2 separate regions of the Homo sapiens genome follow, and region 2 is linked to region 1. Evidence: promoter capture Hi-C in 16 types of primary human blood cells and fetal thymus (Javierre and others, 2016). All regions are on one chromosome and are shown on one strand. Each heading gives the region's core, a stretch centred on a gene start or on the middle of the fragment in contact. The rest is flanking DNA. Distances are from core to core; before and after follow the strand shown.

The links. The method cuts DNA at HindIII sites, captures the fragments that hold promoters and counts their contacts. A CHiCAGO score of 5 or more calls a contact.
Region 2: a contact is called between a fragment that was not itself captured here and the fragment with the promoter of GUCY2F in region 1, in 1 of 17 cell types (neutrophils). The highest score is 6.4, in neutrophils.

Annotation. Positions count from the first base shown.
Region 1 is chrX:109,480,290-109,484,906 of GRCh38, reverse strand. It overlaps GUCY2F (guanylate cyclase 2F, retinal), which reads left to right and starts at 2,821. Exons shown (of 20, transcript NM_001522.3): 1 at 2,821-3,041. The HindIII fragment of the contact is 1,102 bases long and covers 2,162-3,263 here.
Region 2 is chrX:109,827,374-109,831,990 of GRCh38, reverse strand. No RefSeq gene overlaps it. Among named protein-coding and RNA genes, the nearest start is that of ACSL4, 96 kb to the right of the region's middle. The HindIII fragment of the contact is 4,161 bases long and covers 104-4,264 here.

The DNA.
Region 1 (4,617 bases), core at 1,572-4,071:
AACTAATGTTAAGAGGAAAGCTCAATCGATGTGACTGGCTTCACAGTTTTGTGGAGGGAGAGGGTGCTATTTTGGATTCTTTCATTCCATGGCACCTTAGGGAGTAAAGATCATACAGAGAAGATGAAATTTTGTAAATTGTTAGGCTTTGATATTGGAAACATAGACAGGAACTGATACGAGTTCCAACAACATGTAGTAGAATCCGTGAACATTCTGGTGTTGTAAGTCCATGAGAACACTAAGGTCAATACTTAATCATACAGTGTGCTGATGTTTCTGACATAGCAGTTCTAAAAGGTGTATAGGAATAATTCTTAAGTTTGTACTCGTGAATGGATTTGAAGTATCTGTATAATTTTAGATTCATGAGGACCCCAAATGGTTTTAGATTTCTGTTCTAAAATCATCTTTAATTATACTATAACTAAAACTTAGAGATCTAATGGGAATTCTTGAGTGTATGGATAAATCCAATGACCCCCATACTGTGATTAAGAGGCAGTGGTTAAGAGTCCTGACTCTAAAGCTAGAGTACTTATTTTCACAGATGGCTCCACCAGAAACTAGCTGTATGCGCTTGGGCAAATTACTTAATCTCTTTGTGCCTCAGTTTTTCATCTATAAAATGTGGATGATAATAATACCTACCCCATAGGACAGTTGTGATGATCCATTGAGCTAGTATATGTAAAGTCCGTAGAGCAACAAGTGTTTGTGGAACTCTTAATCAAAAGAAGCAAATTCACTTTAGAAATTTTATTTATGTGCTAATTCCCAGCTACTTCTACCTATAAATTTAGAATCTTATGTCTATTCAGGATTTTGGAACATTCCTTGAATGATGGTCCCTTGAACATCCTAGTCCTCATCAGAACCTTCTCATAAAATCCATACTGGGGTTGCTCATGGCACCATGCAGCACTACATAGAGAATGCTAACTGGGGCCCTCACTTGCACCAGTATTTCCATCAGGTCACCTGAAATTCTACAATTAGGGATTGTTTCCTTTGGGTAGTCACGGTGTGTTTCTGGAGACTCTATTAGAGTGCAAGCAGTCTTTGGAGGGATAGCACAAGGGTGCATTAGTGGAATATATCAAGGATAAACGTGAGCTTTCTTGGAGCCAAATAGTCTTGCGTTTAAATTTTCTGGCTCTATTACTTACTAGAATTAGAGTGTCTGAGTTCAAATTCTGTCTCTACTGACCAGTGGCTGTGTGATTTTTGGTAAGTTACTGTAACCTCTCTGGATGTCTGGGAATTCAAATAGTATCTATCTCGTGGGGTCACTGTGAAGATCTAAGGAGACAGGGCTTCCAAAAATGCCTGTCACATCATTGGCACTCAGTAAGTATGATTATTGCCTAATTTATCTCAGTCTTGGCATCCTCATTTACAAAATGGAAAGAATGGGTAATATCCACCTTCATGGTTGTTGTGAACATAAAGATGTACATATAAGTATAATGTACATATAAAATGCCTGTCATACTTAAATAAAAAACTGATAGATAGTAACAAGTGTTGGTAAGAATGTAGGCAAAAAAGAACCCTCATATGTTGCTGGTGGGAATGCCAAATGGTGCATATACTTTGGAAAACAGTTTGCCAATTCAAAAAATGTTAAACATAGAGTTATTATATGACCCAGCAATTCCCTGGGTATATGCCAAAGAGAAATAAAAACAATATGTCCATATAAAAACTTTTACACAAAAGTAATAAAAGCAGTATTCATAATAGCCCAAGGTGGAAACAACCTAAATTTCCATCAACTGATCATGTGGTATACCCAAAAAAGTGGAATATTATTTGGCCACAAAAGAAATGAAGTACTGGTACAGGCTAGAACGTGCATGAACCTTGAAAACGGTTTGTTTTTCAAACAAAGTGTGTTTGGTTTTTTGTTCTTGCGATAGTTTACTGAGAATGATGATTTCCAATTTCATCCATGTCCTTCTTTCATTCAAACAAAGAAGCCACTCGCAAAAGATCACATGTTGTATGATTCCATTTATATGAAATGTTCAGAATAGGAAAATCCATAGAGAAAGTAAATTAGTGGTGGCCTGGGGCTAGGAGGAGGAGAGAAATGGGGAGTGACTTTTAAACAAGAATGGAATTTCTTTGTGGGAATAATGAAAATGTTGCACAAGCTTGTGAATATACTTTAAAAAAACCCTAAATTATATACTTTTGTGGTAGATAAATTATATCTCAATAAAACTATTATTAAAAAACATTTCTCATTTAATATAAGTCATTTTTAGCCCTTAACACCTCAGTTCTCACGTTGGGAATCCAGAACAGGGCCCTGAGTGAATGATGCCCAGGACAGAGAGGGACTTCTTAAGGAAAAGGAATACATCTAAAGTATGGGGAAACAATGTCTCTGTACAAAGGTGTAGAGGGAAGTAGGGAGTCTCTCTTGGGAGGAAAGGCAGTGAAGGCACTTAAGGGGAATAGGAGAAGGAGACAAAATTCACCTGCTTTGAATTTTGCAGGGAGCCAGCCTGGATCACCTTTTATATTCTGGGCTGGAATCACAGCTGATGAATGTTTTGGCATTTAGAACTGTCCTGGAGAAAGGGCGATTGGTGGTTATTAGACAGAATGGAACAAGGAAGAACACAGAGGCAAAATCTGAGAGTTTGTGTCTGACTTTGAAAGGTAAAAGAAGGCAGTAGTCTGTGGAGGACGTATTTATCCAGAGGACTCTATTTGTTTGTTAATCTCTGGGTCATTGCATTTAGGTCAGCACTAACTCTGCTACAGGTGGGATCAATTTAAAGGATTAGAAGTGTCACTCTAAATCCTAATCCAAGTCTTGGTCTGCGGATGCTGAAGAGTGATTTTCAAAACATTTACTAACGCTTTCAATTATTTACCCCATTAATGGAATTTGTCAACAGACTGGAGTCCTTGACAGGATTGTGAATGCATAGAGGATGCAAAGAAATGGACACACTGAGGTAGCTATGCCAGTGGTCTGCATGCGCAGGCAGTAAACTGAAGACATTTGAGCGGTGAATTACTTGGTGAGTAGTTGACAGCTCTTGTTTATAAGAAAGATTGTAATGGGGGGAAAAAAGACACAGCCCACCTGGGAGCTGAGACGCTGATTGAGATACATTAGTTTTACTGCAATATGTAGTAAAAAAAAAAATTTAAAGAATGAAGGAAAGAAGGAAAGAAGGGTTAAAGAGAGCCTTCGAGATACTTTAAGTCAAGATTTGAGCTCAAAGGCTCTCATCCAAGCTTTCGTTTAGTTTCTCTCATGATTCTTTTTTTATTGCTTCCTGATGTTGTCTTATACAAGCTGTTAACTTGATTCAGGCTGTAATTAGAAAGACAAATCAATCTTTCATAGAAGTCCTCGGCTTGACAAGCTGGTATGAGGAGCCATTTCCCTCAGAGCTATTTGTCATAGTCTTTCTTTGTACATGTTTAACGAACGGTGGTTTTCTGTGTGAAGCCAGGCTTCCCATCAGATTGTAAAAACTACCTGAAATGAAATTATGCATCCCTATGCTCTAGCCGCTTTCCATGGAAGTCTGATCCCATGCAGGTGTTCACACCTGAGTAACCTAGGCAATGGCCCCAGAACAACTGTGGGCCAGTAGTATTCTATTTCCAAAATTTCATACCTTCAAACTTTGTTTTAGTTATATCCACATTTCCCATTAACCCCAGGAAAGACTTTAGTGAGCTAATTTTTTTCCTTAAACCAAAATCAGCAGGTGGAGGTTTAGGGCATCCTCCCCCTATCTTGCCCCTTTCTTTCCCTCCCTCCCTCCCTTCCTTCCTTCCTTCCTTCCTTCCTTCCTTCCTTCCTTCCTTCCTTCCTTCCTTCCTTCCTTCTTCTCTCCCTTCATTCCTCCCTCCCCTTCTTTCCTTCCTTCTTTCTCTTCTTCCCTCCTTCCCTCTCCCTTCCTCCCCCTTCCTCTTTTCCTTCCTTCTCTCTTCCTCCCTTCCTTCCTTCCTTCCCTTCTTTTTTTCTTTTTTCTTTTTTAAAGAATAAGTTTCCTTCTGTAAAATCTTGAGTTGGGGGATCAAGACTAAATCCTACAGCAACATAAAACTTTCTGGTTGTCCAGGGAGTCCTAACAGAGTTAGAAATATCACCAAATGCATCACATCGGTACCAGAAAAAATGTAAGGGCAGACCTTCAGCTTGGGAAATGTTTATCTTGCAGTTAACAAAGGGAAAAGAGCAACAAAAACTGAGAGTGAATGCCAAGGGACACTTTGTGGCATGTGGCCTGAGGAGGGACCCGTGTTGTATGAATTTTAGAAATGGTATAAAAAATCTAACTTTTTAGAATTTGGGGTGGGCATTGTGCTTAGGAGTTACCTGGATTATAACACAAAAATGCCAGCCTTACACCTAGAATGGACAGTTAATCACTTTGATCTGAGGGGCACCAAAAGTTTCTTCATTTTTTTGCTCAAAAAGTAGTCCATCCTCCTTTGCCTACCTGCAACTGATGCTTGAAATAGACATTATATTATTAGAGATTAATTATTTTGGCATAAACTTCTCCCCAGCCCTTAAGAGAGAACAAACACCACTGGTTGGGGAGGAATACAGGAAAGTGTCAAATATTATCATTC
Region 2 (4,617 bases), core at 935-3,434, 350 kb before region 1:
AATCCCCTTGTAATGTTAATAACATGTTTGATAGAGGAGGCAAGGTGCAATGTGAACCTTGTGCATGGACACCTAAAACAGTTTAGAGGGTTTACAGAAAGCTTCCTGGAGTAGGTAACCCTTTGAGTTGGCCTCTGGTGTCAGATGGAGCTATTTTGAATTGCAGTTCTTTCATTTACCACCTGTGTGTCCCTGGGCAGATTACTTTACCTTTTGGAGTCTCATTTTCCTCATATGCAAAATAGGGCTAATAATACTAATAGTGATGAACTCATAGAGTCATTATAAGGATGAAATGAGACGATGCATACACAACACTATGCGTTTGTTTGGCACACATTGAGCATCTAATAAAAGTCAGTTGTCATTGTCGTGGTTGTTGTTATTATAGTTTAGGACACAGGTTTTGAAAGCAGAGAGACCTGGCTTGAACTCTGACCCCGAGCAAGTTACTTAATGTCTCCAACTCCCGTTTCCTTATCTGTAAAATGAAGGTAGTAATTCTATCCAAGTATGAAGGTTATCAGGATTAAATGATATAATTTACTTAACCCAGTGTCTGGCAGATGATAAGTTCTCCATAAATAGTCGCTGTTGTTATTAGGCACAGTGAGGGCAACAGTGAGTGCCCAGTAAATGTTGTTGAATGACCAACTAACTAGTGGGTACCAAGTATTCATATTCAGTAGTTGAGAGAGGAAACTCCATCAACTTCAGCTTTACTATTACAAATTGGACATGAAGCCATCTCTACCTGAAAAGCCTTGATACCTTACAGTTACTAAAACATTTTCGGAATTTCCTGTTATTTAGTAACTGCTAGTCCTCAGCTGATATGTAAATAAGACTTCCGAGTATGTGTAAAGTTACTAAACAGTATGGGGAAACGGTCCTCCTGGTTAGTTTTTTCCATCAATAAATAACCCATCATTTGATGAAGCAACAAGCTCATTTCCCTAAAAAAAAAAAAATAGCAGAAACAACATGACTCAGAGCTTTAAAAAGCCCTGTTTGGTTTTTGTTAAATATATATTTAGATAATGATAAACCAAGACCTTAGGCCAGATTCACAATCTCCTCCTCTGCTTCTGTGGCTATGGTTATGCAAGGAAATGGAAAAAAATGTTCAAAGAGACCAGGGGCCCTAGTCCAACATTTGGACTGATTGAATTTCCTAACCCCACTTCCTTCTGTGGTTCTTTCCCAGCCAGGCTAATAACCTCTATACAAGATTGACCCTCAGAAAAGTTATATGCAGGCCAACTTTGTCTTTGCTTCCTCCTTGTCTACCTTTCCACTCCTCTATGCTCTGTGTCTCCAGTATCTTCATGCTCTTCTCCAGCCCCCCAAATCCCTTTCTGATATGTCTTTTATGAAGTAGCTTTCCAGGGCATAGATAGCCCTTGCCCTCCCTCCCATCGAATTGACCTGTCCTGTAGGTCACTCACCCAGGGTTCTGGCTATTGGTTCCTAAGGTGACAGGTGATCGAATTGTAATAGTATAGCTGCTTCCACTGCCCCAACTCTGGCATATTAACATGCTCAGTTCCTTGCTCCAAAGAAGAGGTTCAGGAGCTCCTCTATGAAACACTGCCAGGAGTCCCAGGTTTCCTAGTGTCAGGGTGGGGTTGCTGCATGAAATTCATGTTAGCCACCAACTGTGCATTCTGCCCACAGTGGTGAGTTGGCTTGTGGCATGCTTTGTCAGAGCTCCTGCTTGGTAAAGTCAACTGGGGTAAGCATAGGGTGCCAGTGAGATGAAGTTACATGGAGATAAGGGTAATATCAACCCCTGCCCCCCCACCCCCGCCCAGGGATATTGTGATGATTAAATTAAGTAATATATGTAAAACTTTCAGAAGAATACCTGGCACTATGTAAGTGTCCAATAAATGTTAGTTGTTGTTGTTACTCTCACCCACTGAAGACTGGGTGGCTAGCCAGCAAGGATTCTGATCCAACACGGCTCATGACTACAAATGCTGCTTCTCTCAGCGTGCCTCTTTTGGAGCCCACTCCCACTCACCAAGCCCCTCCTGAGCAGGGATGACTCCCACTCAAGGACCACATTTGGGGCTCTGGCTCCCAGCTTTTCCCCACCTCCTAGTCTGTCCTGCCTGTCTGCCTGCTGCTAACCTCATTTACCATCGGCACTAAAAGCCCTAGTGTCTTCTTTTCCCTCATAACAATCCAGAAATCATACACCAGCAGCAAATAGGTGCTGAGGAAATTTTGTTTGACTGACATGGTTTTTTTTAAAATTTCAGTTGGTTGACAACATTTAAAGATCAGGAGGTTTCCTATTAAAAAAAAAGCTGGGATTTTGACTTCTTTCTTTTTCCTTTTTTTTTTTTTTTTTTTTTTTTTGAGACAGTCGGCTGGAGTGTGCTGGCGAAATCTTGGCTCACTGCAACCTCCGTCTCCTGGCTTCAAGCGATTCTCCTGCCTCAGCCTCCTGAGTGGCTGGGACTACAGGCACGTGCCACTTTCATGCGCGTCGGTGTGAAGAGACCACCAAACAGGCTTTGTGTGAGCAACATGGCTGTTTATTTCACCTGGGTGCAGGCGGGCTGAGTCCGAAAAGAGAGTCAGCAAAGGGTGGTGGATTATCATTAGTTCTTATAGGTTTTGGGATAGGCGGTGAAGGTAAGAGCAATGTTTTGCGGGCAGGGGTGGATCTCACAAAGTACATTCTCAAGGGTGGGGAGAATTACAAAGAACCTTCTTAAGGGTGGGGGAGATTACAAAGTACCTTCTTAAGGGTGGGGGAGATTACAAAGTACATTGATCAGTTAGGGTGGGGAAGAAACAAATCACAATGGTGGAATGTCATCAGTTAAGGCTCTTTTTACTTCTTTTGTGGATCTTCAGTTACTTCAGGCCATCTGGATGTATACATGCAAGTCACAGGGGATGCGATGGCTTGGCTTGGGCTCAGAGGCCTGACAGCCACCACACCTGGCTAATTTTTTGTATTTTTAGTAGAGACGGGGTTTCACCGTGTTAGCCAGGATGGTCCTGATCTCCTGATCTCGTGATACACCCACTTTGGCCTCCCAAAGTGCTGGGATTACAGGCGTGAGCCACCATGCCTGGCCTCTTTTCTTTTCTTTTTTAGATTTTAAGGTCTAACAACAGGGGCTCAAATCTCAGTTGGCAAATATCCATTGCCTCTGAGTGGTGCTTGCCCCCTTTAAACCAGCCTTGTACTCTCTGGTTTGCCACTGTCCCCATTGGCCCACTTCTCTCTTTCACTAGTACTAGCAATAGCCCTTAGGGCTCACCAGGAAGAGCCTTAATGGCTTATTAAAGCTGGAGCCCTTTGTCTCTCCCCTTCCCTTTCCTGCTCCTTCCCCTCTCCTCAAAAAACAAAACAAAACAAAACAAAAAACAAAAAAAACAAAAAACAAAAAAACTGGAGCCTAAATCAGTAGGAACAGAAAACAAGTTTCTCTTACCTGGAGGTCAGGGAAGCTGCCTGGCATTGGCAAAACTCAATTGCCTATCTCTGCTTCCTGGAGGGAAGAAGAGATATTCCTTTTATCCGCAGAAGGTTGCCCTTTACTGGAGATGAGCCAAATGACCTTCCTAAATGCAGAAAAGAAAAAATACAAAACAAGCTGAAGCTCACGCCTGTAATCCTAGCACTTTGGGAGGCCAAGGTGGGTGGATCATGAGGTCAGGAGATACAGACCATCCTGGCCAACATGGTGAAAACCCGTCTCTAGTAAAAATACAAAAATTAGCTGGGCGTGGTGGCGCATGCCTGTAATCCCAGCTACTTGGGACACTGAGGCAGGAGAATTGCTTGAACCAGGGAGTTGGAGTTTGCAGTGAGCTGAGATAGTGCCACTACACTCCAGCCAGGTGACGGAGCGAGACTTTATCAAAAGAAACAAACAAACAACAACAACAACAACAACAACAACAACAAGCTGAAGATGAGCATGGTGGCACGTGCCTGTAGTCTCAGTTACTCAGAAGGCTGAGGCAGGAGGATTACTTGAGACCAGGAGTTCAAGGCTGTAGTGCTCCATGATCGTGCCTGGGAATAGCCACTAAACTCTGGCCTGGGCAACATAGCAAGACCCTGTCTCTAAAAAAAGTAGTAATTATAATAAAACAAGCTGAATGTGTGAGTGTATAATACTGTATGTTTGCATCCTGCTACAAACTCATCTCTCCTCAGACATGTGTCTATTTCAACTAAAAAGTCCACATGTGTCTATTTCAACTAAGCTCTTTCTTCTCCAACAACTAAGCTTTATCTATGGTGTTTAGAGGGCCATGTGTTATTCAAATACTTTGGGCTGCTTTGTGTATACACTGATGTGCATTCTCCTGGAAAACCTTCTGGAAGCTCTCTAAGAGCCTGCAGGGTAGGATAGAGAGGATACTGAATGTTGACTCATCCAAACTTCTCCAGAGGGCAAGTCAGCCTCTAGGGGAATGCAGGGCAGCTGCAACCTCTGCCCAGTAGTCAGGCATTACAGGAATGCTTGTAGGAGTGCATCTGCCCTGAATGTTTACAGCTTGCTCTAAGTCTAAAGAAGGAAAATAGCAGATCAAGTCTCCTGAGCATGAGGGTAATAATAATAAACATGCAGCTTACTATGG